Linked DNA regions of Homo sapiens: regions 1 and 2 are each linked to region 3. The links are contacts of gene promoters, found by promoter capture Hi-C in blood cells and fetal thymus (Javierre and others, 2016). All regions are on one chromosome and are shown on one strand. The core of a region is centred on a gene start or on the middle of the fragment in contact, and the rest is flanking DNA. Distances in the headings are between cores, read along the strand shown. Region 1 holds the start of STC1 (stanniocalcin 1). Region 2 overlaps ENTPD4-DT (ENTPD4 divergent transcript). Region 3 holds the start of NKX2-6 (NK2 homeobox 6).

Region 1 (2,938 bases), core at 278-2,777, 150 kb before region 3:
TCATCACCCAGAACCGTCCGCCGCCCCCCCCCCCCCGCCCCCCACCACCCTATCACCCCACAACATACACAGAGCTGACACTTGGTTTAGTTTGTGGTTAACAGGGGTGGCACTCTTTCTTCAACTTTTGTTTGAAGGTTTTAGGATGCAAAGTAAAGCCACTGGCCCCATTTCTCTGCAAGATTATCCTGCCCAAATCTGTATGAATCACCAGTGGCCATTTCTCATCTACTTCCCCAAAATTATTAAAGGTTTTATTGTATAATACCTTCACCACCTTCCTACCCTAAGAAGTCCTCTTCTGGCTCATTAACCTCCTTCACATGTTGGGGACAAACCTCAGCATTGCCTACAACTCACTTATAAGAAAATATAAGTTTCTATACCAGGCATGATTTGTGATTGCAGTGCAATTTTCCTATTAAGTCTAGAGCTTATCATTCTTCTCTCCTACACATTCTGGTCTTTCTCTACCCCTTCTTTCCATTCTGCCCCCTTTTTTCCTACCCCTCTCCCCAAGAAATGAACTGGTTTCCATTCAGCAGGTTTAGTCTTGCTTTGGCCAGCTTATTGTTTCAAAGTGGTTATAAAGTTGCTGGGCTTGAACACAGATTATTAATTTTCAGGCATTCATGATGTCTCCCTGTTGAGTGTGGTATGTGCAGGTGTGCACATGTGTACCTGGGGTAACTAACACTCCTGGACTATGCAATTTTGCTGGTGACTGAAAAGATGAAGTCAAAGTTGATTTGATTATTGAAGAATCACATTATTTTAGAGGTATACAGAATGTCAGAGTCCAACTTTGGCGTTTTACAGATGGGAAAACGAGGTGGGGCAAGGTAAAAAGACTTAGCCAGAGTCATAGGTTGATCAGTAGGGGGACTAAGGCTTCAGCTCTGAGCTGTCATATCTCAGTCCCCCAAGGCTTTTCCACTCACATAAATTCCCCCTCAAGGGCTCAAATGTGTGAGTGAGAACCCAGGATGTCCACATACAAACAAAAATGCATCATAGACATGTGAACATGTACACACAGAGAAGATAGGGAGTTATTGCATTTGTAGCCTACAAAACAGAACCGAGAATGTGCTGTTAAAATTAGAGTAAAACTGCTGTAAGCAGGTTAAGTTCTCATCTAAAGAGATCACATTTCCCCACCATACCCCTGCTATCCATTTCCCCCAAGTGGCTCATTAGAAAAAAAGATGGCTAGATTTCAAAAAGCAACTTGGAGAGATTTCTATAGGATTTTTCTTTAGTTCAATCAATACAGAGTTATCTCTTACTTCCACGAAAATAGCTTTTTCACACATCTCTGCACACACAGTCACACACACATATAAAACATTGGCAGCAGGTACTTTTAATTTGCTGGAAAATATTTCTAAGAAGTCAAAAAGCTCCAGCTGAATTGCATGCCCTCTTATTGGCTCACCAGACCAGTTGAGGGACCTGATTGGTCCTTGATCCTGAGGACCGATAAGAACGGCTATAAAATCCCTGGGTGCAGCTCTTGGGCCCCCAGTTTGCAAAAGCCAGAGGTGCAAGAAGCAGCGACTGCAGCAGCAGCAGCAGCAGCGGCGGTGGCAGCAGCAGCAGCAGCGGCGGCAGCAGCAGCAGCAGCGGAGGCACCGGTGGCAGCAGCAGCATCACCAGCAACAACAACAAAAAAAAATCCTCATCAAATCCTCACCTAAGCTTTCAGTGTATCCAGATCCACATCTTCACTCAAGCCAGGAGAGGGAAAGAGGAAAGGGGGGCAGGAAAAAAAAAAAACCCAACAACTTAGCGGAAACTTCTCAGAGAATGCTCCAAAACTCAGCAGTGCTTCTGGTGCTGGTGATCAGTGCTTCTGCAACCCATGAGGCGGAGCAGAATGACTCTGTGAGCCCCAGGAAATCCCGAGTGGCGGCTCAAAACTCAGGTAAGCAGCAAACCCAAGAGCGGTTTCTCCCCCAAAGAGCTGTCCTCATTTGCCTCTCCCTTTTGCAACTGTGTCTGTGACGGCTGATCTTGATAATAAATGTGCTTCATGCCTGATGGCAATAAACTGCCAGTGTAATCCAATAGCCTTAGGCAGTGGAGCTCCTTTGTTTAATAAATTGCATGCAACTAAACGAAGAAGCTGGACGCTCTGCTGAGGGTATTTCATTGCATAAGCCTAGCCTGATTGCCTGAAATCTGGCACGTACCCTCTTGGAGGGGGAGGGGTGAGAGGGGAGGAAAGGCTTGAATGTTGGCATGCTTCAAAGCGCTCTCTATACTTTCCAGAAGCTGATCTAAGGTAAGACCTGGCTTGTTTGATGCTGTCCCTCTTCCTTTCCTCTTAAGACTCTACCTCTTCACTTCTTGACTTCTCTACCTAAGAGAATACACAGAAAAGCTCCCTCTTCAGACTGATTTTCAGAACCATAGCCCTCAAGTCTGACAAATCCAGGGCGGATTCAGAGAAAACCCTATACATCCCACCCCCAACCCTGCTGCCTGTCTCCCTCCTGGCTCTGTAGGGCTCCATTCAGTCGTCCCTGCAGCCCGTAGCCAGAGAGCCCCTAGAAAAAAAAAATTGTGAAACGTAGCAGCTGTTTCTCCAAGGGTAAGGTCTCACTTTCGTCTTGACTCTTGGAGCAGTTAATTGTGCATTATCTTGGCTTCTGAAGGAAAAGAATCATTAGGAAGCCTGCATTGACACCTCTGCCTCTTGACTTCTCTGGCTCCACTTGTTCCCCTTCCAATACTGCCCTCTGTCCTCCAACTGTCAGCAAAGACCGGATCACAGGTGTCAAAATGCTGCAGATGATGATCCCCTTGGAAGAGCACAGGTCCCTGCCGAGAGGAGGGCTTTTGCTTCACTTCCTTTTGTACTTAGTTGCTATAGAGATGCAGTGATTCACAATTCGAGCTTGCCTAAAACAATAGCAGCCCTAATGCATATTAA
Region 2 (3,074 bases), core at 499-2,998, 240 kb after region 3:
ACTCAAAGGTGGAGGCTACCCAGTGTCCATCAACAGATGAATAGGTAAATAAAATGCAGTATATCCATACAGTGGAATATTATTTGGTCTTAAAGAGGAAAGACATTCCAACGCATGCTGCAACACAGATGAACCTTGAGAACTTTATGCTAATTGAAATAAGCCAGTCACAAAAAGACCAATGCTGTAGAGTTCCACATATATAAGGTATCCAGAGTAGTCAAATTTATAGGCAGAAAGCAGACTGAGGGTTGCCGGGGGATGAAGAGAGAGGAATGGGGAGTCGTTTAGCAGGTACAGAGTTTCAGTTTTGCAAGATGAAAAACTTCTGGAGATTGGTGGCACAATAATATGTATACACATAACATTACTGAAGTGTACACTTAAAAATGATCAAGATGGGCAGGGTGCGGTGGCTCACGCCTGTAATCCCAGCACTTTGGGAGGTTGGAGCATGAGGATCATTTGAGCCCAGGAGTTTGAGGTTACAGTGAGCTACTATTGTACCACTGTACTCCAGCCTGGGTGACAGAGACTCTGTCTCTAAATAAATAAATAAATAAATAAATAAATTTAAGATGGTAAATTTTATGTTATGTGTATTTTACCACAATTTTTTTTAACAAAAGAGGAATCCTTCCTCCTCTTCACATTTATCGTTCTCTTTGTGTCTTCAGTCACATCTCATGCCACCTCTTCCAGGAGGTTTATTCATTCCTTCTGCGTTCTCCACTCTGGGATTGCCACAAACATTTGGAGGGTCAGGGCTAAGAGGACACACCCATGTTTTAAGATGTTTAAAATGATAAATTCAGATAAACTAGTAAATCAAATGTTATAGCCCCTCTAATTTTTACTTTTTTGCATTTATTTTTAAATCTATATATTAAATCTATATATCTTTGTAACAACAACATGGAAAAGTCTGTAATACTGTGGTTTCTGTAAGACTGAAAGTCAGGCAAGTATCAAGGCTCAAGCTCTGTCCTGAAGCCCCACACTCCCCACTCATCCTCCCAGCTGCTCAGGCCAGCCCACAGCCTTGGGCAACAGCAGAGGCTTCTACAGTCAAGGCCATAGGGCTACATTTTCCTGGGGTAGCTACAGAGCTGCTTCTAGGGCGTGGGACCTGTGCAGTCAGTCACAGATGGCTGGCACTTAGAAAAGCCCTGCACTGATCGGATCATGAGGTCAGGAGTTCGAGACCAGCCTGACCAACATAGTGAAACCCCATCTCTACTAAAAATACAAAAATTAGCCAGGCATGGTGGCACGTGCCTGTAGTCCCAGCTGCTCGGGAGGCTGAGGCAGAAGAATTGCTTGAACCCGGGAGGCAGAGGTTGCAGTGAGCCGAGATCACACCACTGCACTCCAGCCTGAGCAACAAGAGTGAAACTCCATCTCAAAAAAAAAAAAAAAGAAAAGAAAAGAAAAGAAGGCACAATTGGGAAACAAGCAAATAGTCCATTAAACATGTTAGAACACAGCGAAAATATATATAGGGAAGTGTCTGGACATCAGGCTTAAAAGTTGAAAGCAACTTAACCATGGCCTTGGGGTGTCATGCCAAGGAGACTAGTGTGAAGCCATCCTGTCCATGACATCTGGTCACCTCATCGATTTGCAGTTGATTTGCTCAGGAATTTCAACCTTAACTTAAAGGTGATGGTGCAGTAGGGAAGGATGGTGAGAGGAAGAATGGTATGTTATCTGGTGTGAGAAAGGAACAGAGAGAGGTTTAAGGTGTCCAATAAACTACCCACTGCTTCCTGCTTAAGTCTGAATAATTTTAGAAATGAAACAAAAACTATATGAAAACCTGTGAAAGGAAAATATCTTGGGGCCCCAAAATCACTAAGCCAAAGGGAAAATTCAAGCTGGAAACTGCTCAGGGCAAACCTGCCTCCCATTCTACTCAAAGTCATCCCTCTGCTCACTGACATAGAGGCATATTCTGATTGCCTCCTTTAGAAAGGCTTATCAGAAACTCAAAAGAATGCAACCCCTTTTCTCTCACCTACCAGTGATCTGGAAGACCCCTCCTTGCTTTGAGTTGTCCCCACCTTTCTGGATGGAACCAATGTATGTCTTACATATATTGATTGATGTCTCATGTCTCCCTAAAATGTATAAAATGAAGCGGTGCCCCAGCCACCTTGGGCACATGGCGTCAGGATTTCCTGAGGCTGTGCCATGGGCGCACATCCTCAACCTTGGCAAAATAAACTTTCTAAATTAACTGAGACTTGTCTCTGATTTTCTGGGTTTACAAACCAAAGTATCATCTTTATCACAGATGAAGCTGATATTGAAAAATGGAGCTTTTATCTAATCAGAACAACATTGACTCGTGCCAGTCATCATGATCAGGAGACAAAATTACCTTGCTTAACCAGGCCAGGGTCATAATTTCTGACCCAAATGGACCAAATATGACCTGAGTATATTCCTTCAGAAATCTGAGGTACTGTTACCAAAACTAGAGTGATGGGGCCCGAGCAGCAAAAGCAACTATGTCTGCTGCCTACGTGTGTGTGTGTTTTGTGTGTGTGTGTGTGTGTGCATGTGTTTGTGTGTTCAATTACCCATCTCCCATGTGACTCCTTTATGGTACAGTTTGATCACTCTGCTTTGATGAGAAAAGTTTGGAGTAAACCCAGGATTTAGGGCCAGACGTTGTGGCTCACGCCTGTAATCCAAGCACTTTGGGAGGCCAAGGCGGACAGATCACCTGAGGTCGGGAGTTCGAAACCAGCCTGACCAACATAGAGAAACCCCGTCTCTACTAAAAATACATAACAATTAGCCCAGCGTGGTGGCGCATGCCTGTAATCCCAGCTACTCGGGAGGCTGAGGCAGGAGAATCGCTTGAACCCAGAAGGCAGAGGTTATGGTGAGCCAAGATCGCGCCATTGCACTCCAGCCTGGACAACAAGAGTGAAACTTGGTCTCAAAAAATAAATAAATAAATAATTTTTAAAAAAATTTGGAGGAAACCCTGGATTTTGATGTTGCTTTGAACAAGTCACTTTCTCTTTCTCTCCACAACAAAACACCATGAAATAAAAATCCCT
Region 3 (2,859 bases), core at 265-2,764:
GAATTCACGTAAGTAGGTTTAAGAAGCATTTGAAGCCTGCGCGGTGGCTCACACCTGTAATCCCAGCACTTTGGGAGGCCGAGGTGGGCACATTACTTGAGCCCAGGAGTTCAAGACCAGCCTAAGCAACATGGCGAAACCCCGGCTCTACAAGCAATAAATAAATAAATAAATAGCCAGGCTTAGTGGCTGCATCTGTGGTCCCAGCTACTCAGGAGGCTGAGGTGGGAGGATCACTGAGTCCGGGTCGAGGCTGCAGCGAGCCATGATCCGGCCACTGCATTCCAGCCTGGGAGACAGAGAGAGACCCTGTAACCAAAAAAAAAAAAAAAAAGGAAGAAAGAGAAAGAAAGAAAAGAAAGAAAGAAAAAGGAGGGAGGGAGGGAGGGAAAGGAAGGAAAGAAAAACAAAAAGAAACATTTGATCTGAAATCCCCAAAAGAACTCTAATGAGATCCCATTGTGATTAAAACACAATTTTTAAACCCTCTTCGATTCAGTGCTGGAACAGCTGACACCAAATCACGTTTCCCTGATCCAGGAGTAGTAACAGCAGGGGCTGGATCTGTTGGCGCTATCTCCGTGTTGGTAACCTTTGTGCCACACTGCGCCATTTACTCGGTGCCCGCCGTAACCAAGGGCCTTTTCTGGAGATCTAATGCGAGTCAAATCTTCCCAGCCCTTCGGCGGGCGCCGCATTTATACGCGCACACAAGCTGGCACGCTCCAGGCAATCCGCTTTAAGGAGGATAAAGGAGAGGAAGAAAAAGAACGTGGGGACGCCAAGGGCGACGGAAGCCCACCCCCCCCCACCCCCACTCCCGCCTCTGACCACTTTGCGCGGGCCGCAGAGATTGCCTTCCAGTCTCCCCCACCATTCGCGGAGCCCTTTAAGAGGTCGAGGGCTCCCCACATGTAGCCCCCACACCCATTCCTCGGTCCTGGGGCTGAGAAGCTGCTCCTAGGAAGTGGCGGGTCGGGACTCCGCAGACCTGGATTCTGTTCAAAGAGAGAGGTTTCCATCTCAATATAGGCCCTGGTGGGTCAAGACTCACTTCTACTCTGCGGTCCGGCCTCTGCGCACGTAAGATCCCAGCGCGCGCCTCAAATTCCGCGGGTCCCAGCTGTCTCTATCTTAGCTTTCCTCCGCCATAAGAATGCAGAGTTGAGCTAAGACCAGGCTGGATGGACCGGATCGGGTTGCACAGCAAGGACTCCACCTCCAATCCCCGCATGTCCACTAGGAGGGTCCCCGTGGACCCTAGGTTGACCTCGGAAGCTCCCGCTAGTACCGTATTGACGGAGATCCAAGCCGCGCGCAGCACTGTCTCTCCACGTTTTCTTTGCTTTGAGAACCGTCAATACGAACCAAACCTCCCAGGAAGGCGACTGGGGACTGGAGAGGATTCGACGGGCGCGGGAAGAAAGCGCTGGGGGAGGAAGGTGCAGAGCTAGCACGTGGTTTCTGCGAGAACCAATGGGGGGCTACGGTCTCGTCACCCGGCCCTGGACCCGGGCCTACCAGCATGGCCCAGAGGAAGGCGCTGTCTGGGACGCTGGGCGTCTGTCCCAGAGCTTGGGTCTGTCTGCGGGGCCTGCAGCGACAAGACGGGAAGTTCAGGGTGCCGCTCCTCACCCGGACCTCCTCGGCCCCGCCCCATCCGCCTTCGGGATGCTGCTGAGCCCCGTCACCTCCACCCCCTTCTCGGTCAAGGACATCCTGCGACTGGAGCGCGAGCGGAGCTGCCCCGCGGCTTCGCCACATCCGCGGGTGCGGAAGAGCCCGGAAAACTTTCAGTACCTGAGAATGGACGCAGAGCCGCGAGGGTCAGAGGTTCACAACGCTGGTGGCGGCGGCGGTGACAGAAAGCTGGATGGTTCGGAGCCTCCTGGGGGTCCCTGTGAGGCAGTCTTGGAGATGGACGCGGAACGGATGGGGGAGCCACGTGAGTAAGCGCTCAGGTCTTGCCTCCTACGGGGGGAATGTGGGGGCGGGGGCGTGATCCATGGGTGCATGGGGAAAATACGCCTCCTATCTCCTGGGTTCGAGACTCTCTCCATTTTCTCTCGAGGAGTCCAAAAAAAGGCCTCTCGAATCCCATTCCCATCCTCTCCTGACACCCAGTGTGCTTCACACACCCCTAACGAAAGTAAGGCCCTGAATCTCAAGGATTCACTTTTCCCAAATCCGCTCCTCTGATTCCCACAAACGCATCGCTCACACTCGCAGCCACAGTGCCCAGAACCTCCACCTTCTCATCTCCACAGCGAAACCCTCCGCAGTGTCTTAGCCGTGCCAGTCACCACCGCCCTTCCCTACCATCACCTGGTGTCTCTCCACCCCCAAACCGTTTGCAAAAGCGTGTGGCCATCAAAGCAGTGGAACCCTCGTGGCGCTGAGGTCACTCCTAACTGGGCCCTTTCTTGCTGGTCTGGTCGGGGGACCCCCCCATTCCTCCTCATGGATTTTTCTTCTGGAAGACGAAAGTTGGGGACCGGGTGGCGATTGAGTCTCCCGAAGTGGAAGGCCCCGTTGGCGCAGGATTCTCCGCGTCAGGGAGAACGTTAAAGGTTGCCAGGGTTTTCTCTGCCCTGGGACACGGTTCTGGCCGAGTCCTGTCGCAGGTATCCAAAGGCGCAACCGTGCGCGCCGGGCTGCGAGGCCCACGCACCTGTGTCCAGCCCGCTGGAAGGGAAGGGGCTGGCGGGGAGTTGTGTTGCGTCGATCCGGGAGTTGTGTTGTGTCGATCCGGAGGCTTCAGCTGGAGAGGCCCGATATTCCAAGGGATGAAAACGCCACCTTTTTCTCTCCAAACCTCAGCACCTCACTCGGCATTCTCAACGCAGGGGCCCTGAGTAG

The links. The method cuts DNA at HindIII sites, captures the fragments that hold promoters and counts their contacts. A CHiCAGO score of 5 or more calls a contact.
Region 1: a contact is called between the fragment with the promoter of STC1 here and the fragment with the promoter of NKX2-6 in region 3, in 2 of 17 cell types (naive CD8 T cells and non-activated CD4 T cells). The highest score is 7.5, in naive CD8 T cells.
Region 2: a contact is called between a fragment that was not itself captured here and the fragment with the promoter of NKX2-6 in region 3, in 4 of 17 cell types (M0 macrophages, neutrophils, monocytes and 1 more). The highest score is 7.6, in M0 macrophages.

Annotation. Positions count from the first base shown.
Region 1 is chr8:23,853,395-23,856,332 of GRCh38, reverse strand. STC1 (stanniocalcin 1) reads left to right here and starts at 1,527. Exons shown (of 4, transcript NM_003155.3): 1 at 1,527-1,927. The coding sequence starts at 1,810. The HindIII fragment of the contact is 2,191 bases long and covers 1-1,703 here.
Region 2 is chr8:23,463,927-23,467,000 of GRCh38, reverse strand. The region is part of intron 2 of ENTPD4-DT (ENTPD4 divergent transcript); the gene reads right to left. Among named protein-coding and RNA genes, the nearest start is that of ENTPD4-DT, 7.7 kb to the right of the region's middle. The HindIII fragment of the contact is 5,931 bases long and covers 1-3,074 here.
Region 3 is chr8:23,705,411-23,708,269 of GRCh38, reverse strand. It overlaps NKX2-6 (NK2 homeobox 6), which reads left to right and starts at 1,514. Exons shown (of 2, transcript NM_001136271.3): 1 at 1,514-1,945. The coding sequence starts at 1,672. All of the region lies in intron 3 of LOC107986930 (a long non-coding RNA gene), which reads right to left. The HindIII fragment of the contact is 21,372 bases long and covers 1-2,859 here.